2 separate regions of the Homo sapiens genome follow, and region 2 is linked to region 1. Evidence: promoter capture Hi-C in human tissues and cell types (Jung and others, 2019). All regions are on one chromosome and are shown on one strand. The core of a region is centred on a gene start or on the middle of the fragment in contact, and the rest is flanking DNA. Distances in the headings are between cores, read along the strand shown. Region 1 holds the start of PRKAG1 (protein kinase AMP-activated non-catalytic subunit gamma 1). Region 2 holds the start of TMBIM6 (transmembrane BAX inhibitor motif containing 6).

The links. Contacts are between HindIII fragments. The study calls those that stand out against the background at their distance.
Region 2: a fragment that was not itself captured here is called in contact with the fragment with the promoter of PRKAG1 in region 1 in 1 of the 25 tissues and cell types used here (hippocampus).

Annotation. Positions count from the first base shown.
Region 1 is chr12:49,015,535-49,020,695 of GRCh38, reverse strand. It overlaps PRKAG1 (protein kinase AMP-activated non-catalytic subunit gamma 1), which reads left to right and starts at 1,920. Exons shown (of 12, transcript NM_002733.5): 1 at 1,920-1,964. The coding sequence starts at 1,956. KMT2D (lysine methyltransferase 2D) reads left to right here. Exons shown (of 55, transcript NM_003482.4): 55 at 1-1,718. DDN-AS1 (DDN and PRKAG1 antisense RNA 1) reads right to left here. Exons shown (of 2, transcript NR_147179.1): 2 at 1,456-2,460. RefSeq lists enhancers at 1,517-1,716, 2,289-2,879. The HindIII fragment of the contact is 13,264 bases long and covers 1-5,161 here.
Region 2 is chr12:49,741,475-49,746,635 of GRCh38, reverse strand. TMBIM6 (transmembrane BAX inhibitor motif containing 6) reads right to left here and starts at 5,079. Exons shown (of 10, transcript NM_003217.3): 1 at 5,025-5,079. RefSeq lists enhancers at 4,823-5,142, 4,763-5,161. The HindIII fragment of the contact is 3,558 bases long and covers 660-4,217 here.

The DNA of each region.
Region 1 (5,161 bases), core at 671-3,170:
GAGGCAGGGTGTGGCCCGGAGCTCCCACTTTCCCTCAGTCACCAAACTGCTGCTGGTCTGGTGGGAAGGGGTGGTGATGTGGGGGTGGGGGAGCTTAGTGTCAGCGCGGGGAGGGTGGGGGGTATTTATCTATTTATACATGGGATTGTACATAGTCTTGTGGGGCATGGGGGAGCCGGCTGGAGGTGAGAACCCTCCCCTCTCCCCCCACCCCCCGGGGAGAGCAAATGTAAAACTACTAATTTTTGTGCTTTATATATTCTATATAAATATATCTATTTTCTTTTTACAAAACCAGTTTATAAATGGTAGGGGGGTGTGGGGCGGACACATGGAGCTCCCCTTGTGGGGGGGCCCCCTCCATTACCCGACCTACCGCCCTTTTCCTCACCCCCCACCCCACTCCCCACCCCCTGGCTGTGACTGCTGTAAGATGGGGGTATAGAGGCTGGGCAATTCCCACCCCCTGTTGTATAGTTGGACTATGTTATAACGCACAAAAGAGAGCTGACCCCAGGGGGAGCCAGAGGGTGATGGGTTCCTTGCCTCCCTTTCCTTCCCCTTTCTGCCCAAGCTTGTGCTGCAGTTGAACCTCTTCCTGGGGGTGGGAGTAGGTAAGGGGTGGGTGAGGCCCCAAACCCCTCTCTGGTAGGGAACCGTGGGGATGAAGATGAAGCTTATATGCAGTTCTCTTCTAGGGGCTGTGGGCAAAGGGCATTTTGTAATTAATATTTTCAAGAATCAGATGTCTGGAGTGTAGGGGTGGGCTTGGTGGTGGTGGACGGGCGGGCCTGCTGGAGGGGGAGCTTGGTCGCTGTTGTGATTTTAGGTTTGTTTTTGTTTTGTTTTGAATTTGGGGGGTTGTGGATTGTTGGGGGTAGGGAGATTTTTTTTTTTTAAAGCTGCTTCCTCAACTGTTTCAAGCTGCAAATGTTTAAGAGAATAACAGCCCCCACTCCCACAGGAACCGCTGTAATTAAATCAGACAGTAGGAAGACTGGGCTGCTGCCCTCAAAGCCACAGCCCTTGGATGTTCCTTTTCCGAGAGCAGAAGGTCTAGGCTACAGGGAGGGGGAGATTGGCTCCCGTGAGTCAGGCTGTGTTTGGGGCTTGGGCCCTGGGATTGGGAAAAGGGGATGGGGCAGACTTTGTAAGCATATGCTAGGTATCCGATAGTCCTGTAGAATTTAGTGAAGAAACCTTATACAGTTTTTAATTTTTATATAAACTATAACTCAGACCCAAGCTACAAGGTTGGAATTTTGGTTGGTTTTTTTTTTAAGTACCCTGCCTGTATAATTGCATCAGAATCCCCCACCCCACCCCCCGCCCCCGTGTTTGTATTTTGGGTTGGTTTACACTCGCACATACTCAGTTTTCAGTTTTCCCCTTTACAGTCTTCTCCCCTCACCTCCAGGACCCTCCCCCTTTTTAAAAAATAAATCGCTGACAAGTGTGAATCCCGTGAAGACTTTATTTTGTGTTGTGTGTATCCTGTACAGCAAGGTTGGTCCTTCGTAACAACGGATGAAATGGTTCCCTTTTTTAAAGCGCCCTCTCTCCCTCCACCCTCAGCGCCCCTGTCCTTGGCATGTTTTGTATCAGCGATCATTCTGAACTGTACATATTTATGTTGCGAGAGGCAAAGGGCAAGTTTTGGATTTTGCTTCTTCCAAGTTTGTTTTTAAACGACAAATAAAAAAAGAACATTTTAAATACAAGCGGCTCCGTCCCATGACCCTCGCCGTCAGCCGGATCCGTGCGGTCCGCGAGGACCCGGGGGAGGGCGGTTACCGAGGCCCGCCACCGCCGGAAGGGTGGGTTCCTTGCCTTCCGCCCCAGTCTGGCGACTGCCATGACGTGGGCGGAAGTGGCGTCGCCGCACCGGATGTGGGGCGGGGCCTGCCCCAAGAGAGTTTCCTAAAGCGAGGAAACCAAGCCGGGCGCCTCTTGCAATGGAGACGGTGAGGAGTGCAGGAGGGCGGTCGGGGGCGCTGTGGAGCCTAAGACACCCCCCCAACCCTTAGGAGACCGGGAGGGCCGGGCAGGGGCTGGCGCTGGTGTCTAGCAAACAAAAAGCAGCCGGGTGTCTGCCCTATCCCGTGACCCTGTTCCTCCGCTTCTTCGTTGGGCGCATCTCCTGGAACTGGGCCGCGTCCCCGCCGCCTTTCCGTACGCGGTACCCTTAGCCCAAGCAGGCAGTGACTCCTGGCTCCCTCCTTGGGGCCCACGTATGCCGTGGCAATCTCGGGCCTCCTTTCCTATTGGCACCTCAAGCCCTTTTAGAGGTTTGAGAGCGCAGGGTTGTGAGCCGGCTTTGCTGGGTGAGGCACGGGGCGTCCAGAGGGATCTCCGCTTGCAGGTAGCTCCTGGACCTCGATGGTCTTTCTGTGATCCCTGCAATCCCCGGCAGGAGGACATCTGAAGATCTTTATACTGCGTCCAGTGAAGTCACATTCCCTTAATAAGACCGAGAATTGAGGTTTGCTTGAAAGAGGAAATCTTGCAGTGTTAGAGGCCGATGTGTCCCTGGACAATTTTAGGTCATGGCCCGCTCTGCGACTCTAAGCAGGGGTTTTGGCATAGCTCATTCTTGGCGAGCAGGCATTGACCAATTGTGGCAGGGCCCTGTCACCCTCCCACAGATGCTGCGGGTTGCCTGCTACATGTTTGCACCCACCCTCACTCTCAGGAGTCTTTTTCTAGCGCTCTGTAACCCCTCCCATACACTTCCCTCTCCACAGTTTTTAACCATGTGTCTTCTTTCAGGCAGAGTAACTCTTTCCATCTTGGTTTTTATCATCTGCTACTGTAGTTACGAAAGGACTGCAGGTTCACTTTGCTTTGGATTACATGCCCAGAGTAATTCTTTGCCACACCGTTTCTCTGCTCACAGAGAGGTTGTTTCTTTCAGGTTTTCAAAAAGAAAACCGACCAAAGTACTAAAATGATTCGCAGTTGGTCTCCCAGGCAAGGGAGCCAATTCTGACTAATCAGGATAATCTTAAACAAAAATAAGGAGTCTAATTCCATTAAATTTAAAATGACATGTCATATTCTACTTACTTGTAAATGTATTATGGTTTACAAAGCATTTTTATATAGATTTTCTAATTTAGCCTTTACACTTTATGTACTGGATTAGGCTCTGGGGTAGAAGTTAAAAAGAGGAAAAAGAAAACTCAGCCAGGTGTGGTGGCTCACGCCTGTAATGCCAGTACTTTGGGAGGCCAAGGCAAGTGGATTGCTTGAGCTCAGGAGTTCAGCATCAGCCTGGGCAACATGATGAAAGCCTGTCTCGACAGAAACAAAAATACAAAAATTACCCAGGCGTGGTGGTGGTGGTGTGTGCCTGTAGTCCCAGCTACTCGGGAGGCTCAGGTGGGAGGATCGCTTGATCCAAAGAGGTGGAGGCTGGAGTGAGCTGAGATCATGCCACTGCACTCCAGTCTGAGTGACACAGTGAGATCCTGTCTCCAAAAAAAAAGAAAAGAAAGAAAACTCCTGCTTTGAAAATGTTCAGCCTAACTGGAGTGATGGTGAGGGCAAGCCAGCAACAGCTGTTATTTAAAGGTAGACTATAATAAATGCTGTCATCAATATGAAAACAGAGGACTGTGACAGAATAGCTGAGAGAAAAATTACTTTGGACCTAGGAGAGGGCACTGCAAATTGAGAGAACAGTGTGAGCAAGGGCACTGAAATTGGGGTATGTAGAGAACTGGGGGTGAGCCAGCGGCATGATGTTGCTGGCTTTGGATTTTGGTCACAGTGGGAGAAAAGACTGGAAAAGCAGGCTAAGATCAGGTTGAAGGTATTACACACCATGCTAAATTTGAACTTTGTTTTGTAATAGGGGACCCATGGAAGATTTATGAGCAAGTCAGTGAATGTCCTTTAGGAATGTTCATAGCAGCTTTCTGTACATGGACTGAGCTACTTCGAAAAGTAAAGTTTCTTGTTAATGGGGATGAAAGTCCCTTCCAAATCTGAGATGCTTTGGTGAACAAACTTGGTGAAAGCATGAAAGATAAATTGAAGAACAGATAGATTTGGGCCAAGGACCCCAGTTTAAACAACGTTGCAGAGGTGAGAGGTAAAAGCCTAAATTAAGGCTGTGATATTGGCAATGAGAGAGATGGATCTGAGACATTTCTAACATACCAGCTTAGCTGATAAGTGTTAAGAAGACAGCTGTGCAAAACAAAAAAACAAGATGGGAACCACAGCGAGAATAATAGGATTGGAGGGACAAATGTTTTGTTTCGTATTCAAGCATTTGAGGAGTCTCTGTGACATCTATGGTTGTCAAACAAATAATTGGAAATGTAGATCAGAAGTTTGGAAGAAATTGCGAGTCTATTTGTCAGATGTAGACTGTGTCTCTGTAATATTTTGTACTTGCGTGGTACAGTGGTACTTTCTCAGGTCCCTTATGTTATTAAAAGTAGAAAGGAGGCCAGGAGCAGTGGCTCTTGCCTGTAATCCCAGAATTTTGGGAGGCCAAGGTGGCCGGATCGCTTGAGCCCAGGAGCTCAAGACTAGCCTGGTCAACATAGCGAGACCCCATCTCTACAAAAAAATACAAAAAGTAGCTGGGCCTGGTGGTATGTTCCTGTAGTCCCAGCAGCCCGGGAGGCAGAAGTCGGAGAAGCTGGGGAAGTTGAAGATGCAGTGATCTGTGATCATGCCGCTGCACTCCAGCCTGAATGACAGAGTGACACCCTGTCTCAAAAAAAAAAAAAAAGGTAGAAAGGAGTAGATGTAATTACATAATCCCCCCTCTGATATGGTGAAACAGGCAGAAAGTTAAAAGTCACGGCCAGGCTCGGTGGCGCATACCTGTAATCCCAGCACTTTGGGAGGCCGAGGCGGGTGGATCACGAGGTCAGGAGTTTAAGACCAGCCTGGCCAACATAGTGAAACCCCGTCTCTACTAAAAATACAAAAAAAAACTTAGCTGGGCGTGGTGGCAGGCATCTGTAGTCCCAGCTACTTGGGAGGCTGAGGCAGGAGAATCGCTTGAACCCCGGAGGCGGAGATTACAGTGAGCCAAGATCGCATCACTGCACTCCAGCCTGGGAGACACAGCGAGACTCTGCCCACCCGCCCAAAAAAAAAGTCACATATGCAGTTGTGTTTGACTCTCTTATGTTGGTAT
Region 2 (5,161 bases), core at 1,189-3,688, 730 kb before region 1:
GGGACATGCAGCAAGCTGCTGGCACTTAACCTCACTGTACTTCAGTTTCACCTACCATGTGTAAAATACTAGTACATAACAATCCTTATTTCCTAAGGTTGCAGATTAGGTGAGATAATACAAATAAAGTTCTTAAAATAGCTCTTTGTACATAGAATGAGTTCAATACATGGTAACCATTGTTATTACTGGTGTACTAACATTGTTATTACTGGTGTACTCATTACTACAATATCTTCAGTAGATTATTCTCTTTTAAAAGTCTAGTTTTAGCCTGTAATCCCAGCACTTTGGGAGGCTGAGGCAGGCGGATCACTTGAGGTCAGGAGTTCGAGACCAGCCCAGCCAACACAATGAAACCCCATCTCTACTAAAAATACAAAAAATTAGCCAGGCGTGGTGGTGGGCGCCTATAATCCCAGCTACTTGGGAGGCTGAGGCAGGAGAATGGCTTGAACCCAGGAGGCGGAGGTTGCAGTGAGCCGAGATTGCACCACTGCACTCCAGCCTGGGCGACAGAGTGAGACTCTGTCTCAAAAAAGAAAAAAAAAAAAAGAGAGAAAAGAAAATTATAAACTGAAACATAAAGGCACTTGAAAAATCTCATTACTGGTAAAAGTATAGATGCTCGATTTACAATGAAGTTACATCCCAATAATCCCATTGTAAACTGAAAGTATCGTAATTTATGCACTTACTACATATAACCTACCAAACATTATAGCTTAAGCCTAGCCTACCTTACCTTAAATGTGCCCAGAACGCTTACATTAGTCTGAAGTTGGGCAAAACTATCTAACGCAAAGCCTACTTTATAATAAAGTGTTAAATATCTCATGTGAAAATATCATACCAGATATCCCTAGTCTGGGAAAAGATGGAAATTCTAAATGTGCTGGGTTTTTTTTTTTGAGACAGAGTCTCGCTCTGTTGCCCAGGCTGGAGTGCAGTGGCACGATCTCAGCTCACTGCAACCTCTGCCTCCTGGGTTCAAGTGATTATCATGCCTCAGCCTCCCAAGTAGCTGGGATTACAGGTGTGTGCCACCATGCCCAGCTAATTTTTGTATTTTAAGTAGATACAGGGTTTTGCCATGTTGGCCAGGCTGGTCTCAAACTCCTGACCTCAAGTGATCTGCCCACCTCGGCCTCCCAAAGTGCTGGGATTACAGGCATGAGCCACCATGCCTGGCCTGAAGTACAGTTTCTAGCAAACAGGTAGCACTTTTGCATCATTATAAAGTAAAAAATCATTAAGTCCAATCATCATAAATTGGGGCCCGTCTGTACTTTTGTTTAAATGGCATACCTTTCTTCTAGCACATTTATACTATCTCTCTTGTCCCACAGGGCCATGGACATTTTGAGACAGCCTAATAGCCACTAAGTGATAATCTGATATGGTAAAGGATTTGATGAAGTAAATGCGCAAAAGCTTGATGCTTTCCCTGCCACTCCCAGGAGGTAGGTCAGTTCAGTTTCGGAACCATCCAAGGAATTGTTTCATTCAACTAGGACCAAGCTTTGATCTTCCCAGGTGGACACCCTAGATGTCCCCGCCTCTCCCTTAACTTGGACCCAAATCCCTGGATTAGCTAATACTGAATCCATCTCCTCCAGGGGGCTGCCTCAAAACCAAACCAGTAACTGGAGATGAAATGCCTACTGCCTTCAGTAAATTATTTTTTGTACCAAACGTTGACACTACTTCATCTCCCTCTCTATAACGTTTGACAGATACTGAATCCTAAGAAGGCCCCAAAATCCTAAATACATAATCTTCTTCCAGTATAAACCAGTAATCCCTCCCTAATAACACCATATTTAGCCCAAATGGGGAGCACACATAAATTAAGACAAACAGCATACCCACTTCACCCTCACTGGTGAAGCTCCTTTTTCACGTGTTTTGGATTCCAGTTAATTGTGCAGAAACTTCTCACCCTGAGGGCAGAGCTTGCATCTGGTTCAGCTCAGCTATCCCCAAGATTTAAGCACTACAAAGTCTCTAGAGCAAATTTAGACCCTATTATCAGATCAAGAGTGCTGTAACCTCAAATCAACATTCCCCAGCTGGCTCAGAGTGGAACCTACCTCAAGGGGTCACTTAGGTAACCTTTAAGTCAAGGAGACAGCCTTTCTCTCCTTGGTCTCGAACACCATCTTTGGAAAACAAAATGTGTATAAAAACTACGAAGGGCTGCATGCAGTTTGGTTAGAAACTCTGGGGGAACAAAACAGAGTGGTAGAAGACATTTCTACCAGATTCTACAACCAGGTCAAAGTAGTAAAGGAAAAAAAATCAGAAGTTAGAGCATCAGAATATTCAATGGTTTCTCTAGAGAAAATTAATACCCTTGGGCAGTTTACGAAATAAAATGAAACTCGTCAGGCCAGCAGTAGTACCTTCTATACTAATACTCCTGACTATATTTATATAAAATTTATAACTTTTAAGGTGCTTTTATATATGTATCACCTTCAATCCTCACACATCAACCCACAAGGAAAGGGAAAGATTAGGCCCATTTTATACATCTTTTTTAAGTTCAAAAAGGCAATGTAATAGTGGCAAGAGGACAGGATTTGGTGTCACAAGTGCTGCCACTTTCTACTATATAACCTAGGAAAAATCATTTTACCTAAGGTTATTTCAGCTTCCTCATCTGTAAGATAACGATGATGATCAATACCTGCTCTACTGAATGCCAATAAGAAAATCTGTGTGAAATCAACGTAAAGTACTAAAACAAACATTAGTATTGATTTGACCAACATTAGAAAGTTAAATAGCAGAGCCAGAACCAGATTTGGGGTCTTCTGACCACTATAGTCTAGTGCTCTTTTTACTATTCCATCCTACAGTAGAAAAATAAGCTTTCATTTATATAAGCTTTCAAAAGTTTCAGCCATAGGTGAAAACAAATCTTTAAAACAAAAAAACCCTCCCAAAACATACATTGATTCCTATGACATTTTTCTGCATTTTCAGCATTTGTATAAAGAGCGCGAACTATATCTATAATCAGGGAAAATAACTTGAAAATGCTAAGTATCTAGATTAATTTTACCTTTTCTTATTCTTCAGGAGAGATGACTCTTTTTCTTTAGGAAAGGATTACACCTGTAATCCTAGCAATTTGGGAGGTCAAGGCGGGCGAATCGCTTGAGGTGTGGAGTTCGAGACCAGGCTGGACAACTTGGCAAAAGCCCGTCTCTACTAAAAATACAAAAATTAGCTGGGCATGGTGGTGCGCGCCTGTCATCTCAGCTGCTTAGGAGGCTGAGGCATGAGAATTGAATGCACCAGGGAGGCGGAGGTTGCAGTGAGCCGAGATTGCACCACTGCACTCCAGCTTGGGTAAGGGAGTGAGACTGTCTCAAAAAAAAAACATAATAATAATAATAAATAAATAAATCGCTTGAGTTCTGGAGTTGGTAAGCCTGGGCAACATGGTGATACCCCATCTCCACAAAAAATACAAAAATTAGCTGGAGCTGGTGACGTCCACCTGTGGTCCTAGCTACTCAGGAGGCTGGGGTGGATCACCTAAGCCAGGAGAGGTCAAGGTTCAAGTGAGCCATGACTGCGCCACTGCACTCTAGCCTGGGCGACAGTGAGACTCTGCCTCAAAAAAAAAAAAAAAAAAAAAGAGGAGGAAGGTACTAAACCATGTTTCCACAACCAGATAAATAACGGAAGAAGCAAACTATGGATCAAAAGTACAGATTGTATTTCTCAAGGGTTCAACTATTCTGTCCCTACTGGAGGAAAGTGGCGGCAGAGAATCTAAATGTCAACATATTCTTTAGGCCAGAACAAAAATATTAGACACAAAGAATAAGAAAACACCAAAGAGTGTAAATACAATAATTACAGAAAAAAGTGTGTATACGCAGGTCATAAGAAATGTGTTTATGCAATTCCGGTATCTTTCCAGAATTCAATTCTTAAACCACACATACAAAAGATAAACTGTAAATAAATATCAATAAGTAACTAGAAAAGTCCATTTGCCATTTATTTACCTTTGACCTTAAAATCCTTGTCTGTTTCAAGCACAGTCAGCCCTTCTACTGGGTTACACATTCACAAGTTGCTAGAACACAGTCTCAAGTTCATAGTGATTTTTGTTGTGGGGGTGGTCAATGAAAGGCTGATGACCCCAAGCAGCCCGGGCTGGCACCGGGTAGTAATTCTACACTCAGTAAATATACAAAGATACCAAAGCCTACTTGTTACCACAGGTCCAGCAAGTAGGCCCAAGATAAAAACTGCCCAACGACGCCCTTGCTGAGCAGACTTAGAAAGACGCCCACAAAACCTCAAGACCAAGCAAAGCAAAGCCACCTCACCTGCCCAAAGGTAACCAATCCGAAAAGAGCGGGGCCGCCCCGTGGGCCTGGAAGGCAGCCCCAGCCCCAGACTCCTCTCACTTCCCGCCTCTGCCGTTGGCTAAGTAACTGAGGAGCCTCGCGTGTCACAGAGGAGTGTGACATCACCCGCCCGCCAGGCCCTACCTCGAGTCTTGGCTCCGGGCCGCTCACCCAGGGTCAGCCCGACCAAAGGACCCGCCCGCAGCCGAACAGCAATCGGATGGGTGGAGTTTCGCGTTCCTTCACCTCGGAAGGACGTGCTCTGAATTCGAACGATCGAAGCTAGGCCAAGGGGCCCTGCGTCTACACTTAGTAGAGGAGAAGGAGCGGGAGAAAGGAAAAGGCGGGCTGAGAAGGGGCCTTCGCCAGCGCTCTGGGGCAGAATAGAGGCCTCGACACCCCCCAAAACCCCCGCAGACTCGCCTCCGCCCCACCCCCGCTTCAGCACTGTTGCGCACGCGCAGCACTAGTTCCCTAGCTTCCCTCCACACCCTGTTTTCCCGAGTCTGGTCTCCGAGCAGGGCCTCGTTCCTTCAGGGTGCCATCTGTCCGCAGAAGGAAGCTACTGCCACTCTTGCTCAGACAGTAACTGCTAACTCCCTTTCCATTTCTCACTCCCAGTTCGCCCAGTACTAGGTTCAGACGTACCTTCCTAACCCGCCTCTCCAAGGCCTACCAGCGCTTCTAACACCGGATGTGCTCTGACTCGCCCACTTCCGCTCCCGATCTTTTACCCGGCGTTCGCCTCTCGAGGGAAACCCCGCCCTGTGGTCCGCTTAAGACCA